Linked DNA regions of Homo sapiens: regions 2 and 3 are each linked to region 1. The links are contacts of gene promoters, found by promoter capture Hi-C in blood cells and fetal thymus (Javierre and others, 2016). All regions are on one chromosome and are shown on one strand. Each heading gives the region's core, a stretch centred on a gene start or on the middle of the fragment in contact. The rest is flanking DNA. Distances are from core to core; before and after follow the strand shown.

What was found. Contacts are between HindIII fragments. The CHiCAGO score rates a contact against its expected background, and 5 or more counts as called.
Region 2: the fragment with the promoter of NUMA1 here is called in contact with a fragment that was not itself captured in region 1 in 10 of 17 cell types (erythroblasts, fetal thymus, total B cells and 7 more); the score reaches 9.6 in erythroblasts.
Region 3: the fragment with the promoter of XNDC1N here is called in contact with a fragment that was not itself captured in region 1 in 1 of 17 cell types (total B cells); the score reaches 5.3 in total B cells.

The regions. Positions count from the first base shown.
Region 1 is chr11:72,414,298-72,416,997 of GRCh38, forward strand. All of the region lies in intron 2 of CLPB (ClpB family mitochondrial disaggregase), which reads right to left. Among named protein-coding and RNA genes, the nearest start is that of CLPB, 19 kb to the right of the region's middle. The HindIII fragment of the contact is 277 bases long and covers 1,163-1,439 here.
Region 2 is chr11:72,079,092-72,081,791 of GRCh38, forward strand. NUMA1 (nuclear mitotic apparatus protein 1) reads right to left here and starts at 1,451. Exons shown (of 27, transcript NM_006185.4): 1 at 1,367-1,451. It overlaps LRTOMT (leucine rich transmembrane and O-methyltransferase domain containing), which reads left to right and starts at 1,759. Exons shown (of 9, transcript NM_001145310.4): 1 at 1,759-1,794. It overlaps LRRC51 (leucine rich repeat containing 51), which reads left to right and starts at 1,759. Exons shown (of 6, transcript NM_145309.6): 1 at 1,759-1,794. RefSeq lists enhancers at 862-1,817, 1,537-1,806, 1,818-2,700. The HindIII fragment of the contact is 5,366 bases long and covers 1-2,700 here.
Region 3 is chr11:71,927,200-71,929,903 of GRCh38, forward strand. It overlaps XNDC1N (XRCC1 N-terminal domain containing 1, N-terminal like), which reads right to left and starts at 1,395. Exons shown (of 6, transcript NM_001375847.2): 1 at 1,166-1,395. It overlaps RNF121 (ring finger protein 121), which reads left to right and starts at 1,847. Exons shown (of 9, transcript NM_018320.5): 1 at 1,847-1,925. The coding sequence starts at 1,863. It overlaps XNDC1N-ZNF705EP-ALG1L9P (XNDC1N-ZNF705EP-ALG1L9P readthrough), which reads right to left and starts at 1,395. Exons shown (of 11, transcript NR_172895.1): 1 at 1,166-1,395. RefSeq lists an enhancer at 1,228-1,537. The HindIII fragment of the contact is 13,024 bases long and covers 1-1,660 here.

The DNA.
Region 1 (2,700 bases), core at 51-2,550:
AAGGAAAGGCCTGTGCAGGACCTGAGGTGTGGGAAAGGGTCATAGGCGCCACCTACTGGCCCCACAGCAGGCCTCCTGGCTGGCTGCCAGGAAACCTGTCACACTACAGCAGTGAGACACAAAAGTGGTTCAAATTTCTCAAACAGTGAAACAGTGTTGGTACTTGAGCCACCTTCTGTGAAGTTCAGGAATCTCACAAAATTTCCAGTAAAGAAGAGACAATGAAAAGCCAACCATAAAACCTGGCCTCCTCGGGCAAAGGTGTGGCCTTCACTCACTCAACAAAACTGAAGTAACATCTCCAAGCTAGCCTCTGTGTTGGGCATTGACAGACACCGAAGTCAATCAGACATGAATCTTGCCTACAAGGAGCTCTTATTCTGAGCTGGAGGAGGGAAAATGAAACAAGCGCACAAATAAGTGCACTAAGTATCACAGGTGCTCAGAGATGTTTACACAGGCTCAGGGAGCACAACTCACCGCCTTGCAAAGCTCTTGAATGATGGAGTTCAAAAGAGCTCACATTTCTTGAGCTGCCTACTACGCAACAGATACTTGACATTTATGATCTCATTTGATCCTCTGAAAGAAGCCCAAGTCTTACAGAGGGTAAATGACTGATTAAGATTACAAGGCCAGGCTGGGAACGGTGGTTCACGCCTGTAATCCCAGTACTTTGAGAGGCCGAGGTGGGTGGATCACAAGGTCAGAGGTTGAAGACCAGCCTGACCAACATGGTGAAACCCTATCTCTACTAAAAATACAAAAATTAGCCAGGCATGGTGGCAGGCACCTGTAATCCCAGCTACTCAGGAGGCTGAGGCAGGAGAATCACTTGAACCCGGGAGGCGTGGGTTGCAGTAAGCCAAGATCGCACCACTGCACTCCAGCCTGGCGACAGAGTGAGACTCCGTCTCAAAAAAAAAGAAAAAGAAAGATTACAAGGCCAATAAGTAGCAGCCGGGGATGAAGCCCAAGCTCTATGGAGCCACACTGCCTTCCAGGGCTCATATGCCCAATTCTTCCCTTCTTTCCCAGATTTAGCATGCGTCAGCACACCATAGTTGTCTGATGGGACCAATCAGCTGACAGAAAATAAGGAAAAGCCTCAAGTGGAAAGGAGTTTACTTGAGGGGTGAAGATACTTTCTGTTTAGTCCTGAAGCTTCCTAGAACCTTCTCTCTTGGAAGTTCTAGTTCCTTCTAGTCGCATGCTGAGAACATTCCAAGCCTATCCTTTCTTCTTTCTGGTAGTCTCCATACCACCACCACTACTTTCACATAGTACATATTCACATTTCAAATATTACAAATTCACAAGCAAATACAAAGCCTTAAAGTGTCCTTACCTTTAGGTTAAAACAAGCTCTGCAAACAAATCCAATCAAAGGGTTACAGGACAGAAGAAGTCATGGATCTCAGAAGGCTGGGCCGATTACAAGCTTAACAGAACCTAGGAGTGTAACGCAGCTGCCAAGAAAGCCAATGCAAGGTCGGGCCATATTAATAGAAGTATAAAATCTTTAACAAAGGGGATGGTTGCCCTGCTCCTCACAATAATGGTCATGCCACACTGGAATTCAGAGAGGGCACCAAAACTTTCTAGCTGTTTCATTTTAAAATGACTAGGATGAGGAGGAGACTTGAAACCACAGTTTAGGGAACCAAGGCTCATATAGCTTGGAGCTCTGTCTCCTAAGAGTTAAAAATCTGGAACAGGAAAAGGAAGCCATGTAGTCCTAGAAGACAGAGCTGGGACCAAGTGAGGGGAGTTGCAAAGGGAGCTAACACATAATGACAGCCCATCATGTGCCAAGTGCTATGCCAGGTGCTTTCACACTATTGCTTCAGAGCTCATCAGAAGATAAAACTGTTTTCTACTACTAATTACAAATTGTCTTTACTTACATTACTCCAACTGCCCAGAAAGTCTTTCTGCAAAGCTCCTTGTATACAAATACGACCTATCTCCAGACCCAAACTAAAGGCCACCTTGCCTGTGAAGCCCTAACTTTTCACCTGTACTAACTACAATTCTCTTACCAGACCGCAAGTTCCTTGAAAGACAAAGGTCATCATGATACATTTTTCTCCCCCTCAATGCCTAATAAGAAATTGCTCATAACAGGCCTTAAGAATGAATAAATGCCAAAGAATGGCTGGGTGCGGTGGCTCACACCTGTAATCTCAGCACTTTGGGAGGCTGAGGCAGGCAGATCACCTGAGGTCAGGAGTTCGAGACAAGCCTGGCCAACATAGTGAAACCCCGTCTCTACCAAAAATACAAAAATTAGCCAGGCATGGTGGCACGTGCCTGTAATCCCAGCTACTTGGGAGGCTGAGGCAGAAGAATCGCTTGAACCCGGGAGGCAGAGGTTGGATTGAGCCAAGATCGCGCCACTGCATTCCAGCCTGGATGACAGAGCAAGACTCCGTCTCAAAAAAAAAAAAAAAAAAAAGAAAAAAGAATGAATAAATGCCAAAGAAGATACAGAAATGGCCAATAAGCACATAAAAAGATGCTCACATCATTAGCCATTAGGGAAATGCAAATCAAAACCACAATGAGATACCACTCCACACACACTAGGTTTGCTGTAAGTGATGACAACACTGATGACAACAATTGTTGGTGAGGATGTGGAAAAGGTAGAACCCTCACACGTTGCTTTTGGGAATGTAAAATGGTGAAGCCACCCTG
Region 2 (2,700 bases), core at 201-2,700, 340 kb before region 1:
AAAGCGAAATTCCTGTGCCCTTTCAGCCCAAGAAATTATTCCAAAGCATACATTTATTCCCATTACATGTCGCAAATCCTGCCTAGCCATTAGGATACAGTGACGAAAAAGTCTCTCGTTATCTAGAAGGGCAGACAAACACGCAGACTTTTAAAATACCAGATGGCAGGCCGGGCGTGATGGCTCACGCCTGTAATCCCAAGCACTTTGGGAAGCCGAGGCGGGCGGATCACGAGGTCAAGAGTTCAAGACCGGCCTGGCCAAGATGGTGAAACCCTGTGTCTACTAAAAATACAAAAGTTAGCCGGGTGTGGTAGCGGGCGCCTGTAATCCCAGCTACTCGGGAGGCTGAGGCAGGGAACTGTTTGAACCCGGGTGGCAGAGGTTGCAGTGAGCCGAGATCGCGCCACTGCACTCCGGCCTGGGCGATAGGGCGAGACTCCGTCTCAAAAAAAAAAAAAAATGACAAGTGCTAACTCAGAGGTAAGCAAAAGAGAGTACCCAGAGGCGGCAGCATCAACCCAGTGGGCTCCCGCCCACCCACAATCTTCACACAGTCACACCACTTATAGTCATAAATTTGTACTCTCCGAGGTGCGTGTATGAAACATGTTATCTGTGAGAGTCCATGGATGAAAAACAAAAACAAACAAAAATTAAAAAAAAAAAAAAAAAAGACTTAACCTGTTTTGACCAGGACAACCACCCCAGGAAGTAGGTAAGGCAGGTAAGGTCATTGTTTACATATATGAAAAGTGAGGCTCAAAATACACTGACCAGTCCAAGACAACGCGCGCCCCCACAAAGCACCTTCCCCGTCCCCATTTATGCCCAACCCATAAACCCAAAGTAGAGCCAACCTCGCACTGGCTACGTAACCCGGGCCAAGCTAAACATTATAAACCTCAGGCTCCCCATCTTTAAAGTATAACAGGTGGTTAGAAGATTAAAAAGATAAACATTTGGCAGGTCATTGTGGACGGTGTAGCTCAGAAAATGCTGACTACTGCACTACCATAACTACTGCTATTGTTAACGATAAAAGGCAAAGACTTTCCAGGACCCGACCCCTCGCTTACAAGCCTTTCGGGAACTTGCCCTATACCCCCGACCCCAGTCACCTTCAGATTTAATTCCACAGACACGCCCCCAAACAGACCCTCCCCTTTAAGGCACCCCCCCCCCCCCCGGCTCCTCCCTCTCAGGCGCCTCTCCTCACAAACCTTACCCCCATAGATTCTGCCCTTTCGGACTCGGTTATGGAGGAGGCCTTCCGCTCGCAGCGGCCTCTCCAGCACCCCTTTTAGGCCTGAGCACCCGCAGGGGTGCCCAGGCCGCACGCCAAACGCGGGCCCGCGCCGGTTACCTGGCTGCGCGCTCCCGCTCTGCCTCGCGATTCTCCGGAATCGTACCTCTTCGTGGGCTCGCGCCAGCGCTGTGAGCGCACAATTAGTTTAAACTATGGCCCCGCCCCCTCGCGCTGCCCTCTGATTGGCCTCTGTCGGCGGGGCCCGCTTAAGGACCCGGGAAAAGGAAGTTTGAGGGCCACTGGGAAAGAGAAGGGGTATCACCGCTTCCGGACCCCGGCCTGTACTTGAAGGCAAAGAGAACTACAAATCCCAGCGTCACCCGCGGCCTTGAAGCCCCGCCCCTGACAAACTGAAGGTCCCGGTAAGCATCGCGTCAGTACTTATGGCGCCTGCCGGGTTGTGGTGACGAAAGCAGTTGCCATGGAGTTGCTCTGAGTAACCCTGAGGCAGTGGGACGCCAAGACTGGAGAGGAAGCGACTGCGGGTGAGTCGGGCGGGAAAACAGGAAACCCGTTCTAGGGGACAAGAGATCTATGGAGAAGGGAGGGGCACTCACAGAACGACTAAGAACCTTCCTGCTCGGGGATCTGAGATTTCCCCCACCGACCCTCATCACCTTTCACAGCGAACAAGATACAACACTCACATGGGACAGACTGGGCGAGGGGGAGCAGAGGGAGGGATAGGCGTTGAGATATATATCCATACAGATTTGGGGATGCTTAAGAACCACCCCCAGGGCCGGGAGCGGTGGCTCACGCCTGTAATCCCAACACTGGGAGACCAAGGCGGGCGGACCACTTAAGGCCAGGAGTTCGAGACCAGCCTGAGAAACATGGCGAACCCTGTCTCTACCAAAAACATAAAAAAATTAGCCGGGCTTGGTGGCGCGCTCCAGTGGCCCCAGCTACTAGGGAGGCTGAGGTAGAAGGATCGCTTGAGCCCGGAGATTGAAGCTGCAGTGAGCCGTGATCACGCAACTACACTCCAGCCTGGGCTATAGAGCGATACCTCCATCTCAAAACAAAACAAAACGAAACAAAACAAAAACAAAACAAAACAACGAACCCCGCCCCCAACGCAAACATAAAGCTCCCAAAATCGGATGCTTCAAGTTCCAGGCATAACCTGGGAGATCAGAAACGCCCTCAGAAATGGGGTTGGTTTTCCTCTGAGGAACTGAGACCCTCTTCCAAGACATGCGGTTAGCATTAGATTGAGTAAATCGCAGTCGCTACCCTAATTCTAGAGATGTAGGAAACTTCCTGGGGCGTGAAGTGCCTCATTCCTTCTTCTTCCAAGGAGTAAAACCCCTTCTCAATCTGTCCCCAGATTCCCTTTTCTCCCCACACCTTCTCCGTGGTCCGCTACTCAAAGCTCTACAGTTAGA
Region 3 (2,704 bases), core at 145-2,644, 490 kb before region 1:
TCACGCCACTGCACTCCAGCCTGGGCGACAGAGCCGGACCCTGTATCACTCAGGCTGGGCACAGTGGTTCACACCTGTAATCCCAGCACTTTGGGAGGCCGAGGCGGGTGGATCACTTAAGGTCAGGAGTTCGAGACCATGGCCATGACCCCATCTCTGCTAAAAATATGAAATTTCCCCAGGCGTGGTGGCGCGTACGTAGTCCCAGCTATTTGGGAGGCTGAGACATGAGAATCGTTTGAACCCAGTAGGCGGAGGCTGCAGTGAGCCCAGATTGAACCAGTGCATTCCAGCCTTGGTAACACAGCGAGACACCGTTTCAAAGAAAAAAAAAAAGCACTCAGATTAAAAAACAAAATGAAACACAATACAATACTATATAGTCATGGCTACATATAATTATTAAAAATGGACTGGGAGAACACAAGCTAATTCTAATTCATAATAGTTGCTTCTGGAGAGGATGAGAGGGTAATAGGCTTGAGAGTAGAAAAAACAGGTAAGTTTAACTTTTATTGTATTATCTAGCTTTTAAAAAATAAGCAAATAAATCATAATGCCAGTAGTCAATTTAGGGTGATGGGTGTACAGTATTTACAATATTCTCCGTATTAAGTGTCACAAAATAAAAATGATTATTTTTAAGTAAATGGGATGCCTGTGGATGATGTAGATAATTCCCTGTAATTTTCTGTTGGTCCCAATGTAAAGCTGACTTTTCTAGACGTTCTGTGGGCTCACAGGCCATCCTAGTTCCATTCACCAGACAGATCCAGGCGGACGCCCAGAGGCGTGTGAGCTGGGGCTACAGGCTTGCAAGGTATCGAGTTCACCGGCTGCTGAAAAATCAGTTATGAAGGTATACGTAGGGGTGGGACAGTGAATGGTGTATAAAAAGGAGGGTAAGGCAGAAGCTGGGGCCGCAGGATGTGGGTTAGAAAAGTGTGCCGAGGTGTGTGAACTGGCATGACAGCCTAAGTAAGACGCGGAATGTGGGTGCCCTGGAGGTCCCGCAAGGCTCTTCAGCTCTCAGTTTCGGGAGCTCAAGCCGCACCGCTGCTTTCACAGCTCATCGGGAACAGGCTGCTCAGTTCATTTCCTTGATGGCCACCCTCCTCCCTCTCGGCCACTCCCCTCCCCATCAACAAATCCCAACGCCCCTCACCCGGGACCGTGGACCTCGAGGAGCCACCGTTGCCTCGGATCTCGGACCACCAAACCTATTCTCCCGCCAATTCGGCCTTCTGACCTTCGCCTTCTGACCCCGAGAGCTACTCTTCCGTCTTCCGTAGCACAGGAATGCGTTCTGGGGCTTCAAGAAGCTGCTGTTTTTGAAAATGAGTCCTACCGAGGCAAGATGGCAGGTGCTGCAGCCAGGAAAATACATTTCCGTGTGTTTTAATATTTATTTTCACTCACTACAACTCTTTCGTGGAGGGAGCGGAATTTAAACTTCCGGGTCAGCCTCAGTGCAGCTTGGGAAACGTAGTTCCTAGTCCCCACGTCTCGCTCCTTGGAGCCCAGACTGAGGGAGCGTCGCGAAAGTTGCCCGTTTTGGAACGCTCCCATTTGGCTCTCCAAAGGGAAGAATTGGTTAAATAGTTGCACTGAAAATAATGCGATTCAAATTTCTCATTTTCCAAGAACGCTCCCTTGCTGAAGCTTGCAAGGGCACGGTACTCCCCTCTCCTTGACCCTGAAACGTGCAGCAAGTAGATAACCTCCTGATCCCTGACAGTCTCCGCCTGTGTTGATGCCCCGCCCCCTCTGCTGGAGTCCGAGCCGCCGATTGGCTAGGAGCACTTGAGCAGCGGAAGCAGCTGGCTCGCGCGGGGACTGCGGTGAGGGGGCGAGCCGTGAAGATGGCGGCAGTGGTGGAGGTGGAGGTTGGAGGTGGTGCTGCTGGGGAACGGGAGCTGGATGAGGTAAGCGGAGTTGAGAGACGAGGAGAGACTCAACCTGAGACTGAGGGGAGGGGCAGTGAGGTATCGGGAGGTGGGGGTCTTAGGAGAGAAGGGAAAGATCCTGAGAGGGAAGGAGCTGACTAGGGGGCGGGTGCGTGGAGAGCGAAGTCAGAGGCACTCCTGACTTGGGGACTCCGAGGCGGCCTTGGGAGTAGAAGACTTGCATTAGCCTCAAGGGTGAAGATGGAGGACAGAGAGAGAGGTCGGAGGGGTGGGGGTGTTAAGATTTTGTGATTACTAGCTGGGTGTCTTAGGGTAGGACCGAAGGGCTAAGAGGTAGTTTGAGTTGGAGGGACGTGAATTTCTTCAGGGGAAGGCTGGGCTTCTACTGTGGGAGAGGACTCTGTCTAAGCCTAGGGTGGGGGTTGGGGACACAGACCGGGAAAGAGTGCTAATCCACTAGTAGTATAGCTTTGAGTTATCTTAAAGTTGGAACTGTTTTATTTATCGTTCCATTCTAAGACTTTGTATCTAATGCATGCTCAGTAAAGTTTTGGCCAACGAATGAAGGAACAAGTGGATGAATAAATGATTGTATGCCGGAATTCATGCATTTATTCACTTAATAAACATTATGACTTTTGCTCCGGGTTCTGGGCCAGGTGCTAGGGAGACAAGGGGCCCCTCCGTTGAAGAGCCCACAGTCTAGTGGTGGGAGACAGACAAGAAGACTAGTCATTGCATTAGAGATATAATGGTGGCACTGAGAAGTGTGCAACATTTCAGCTTGGGATAGGGAA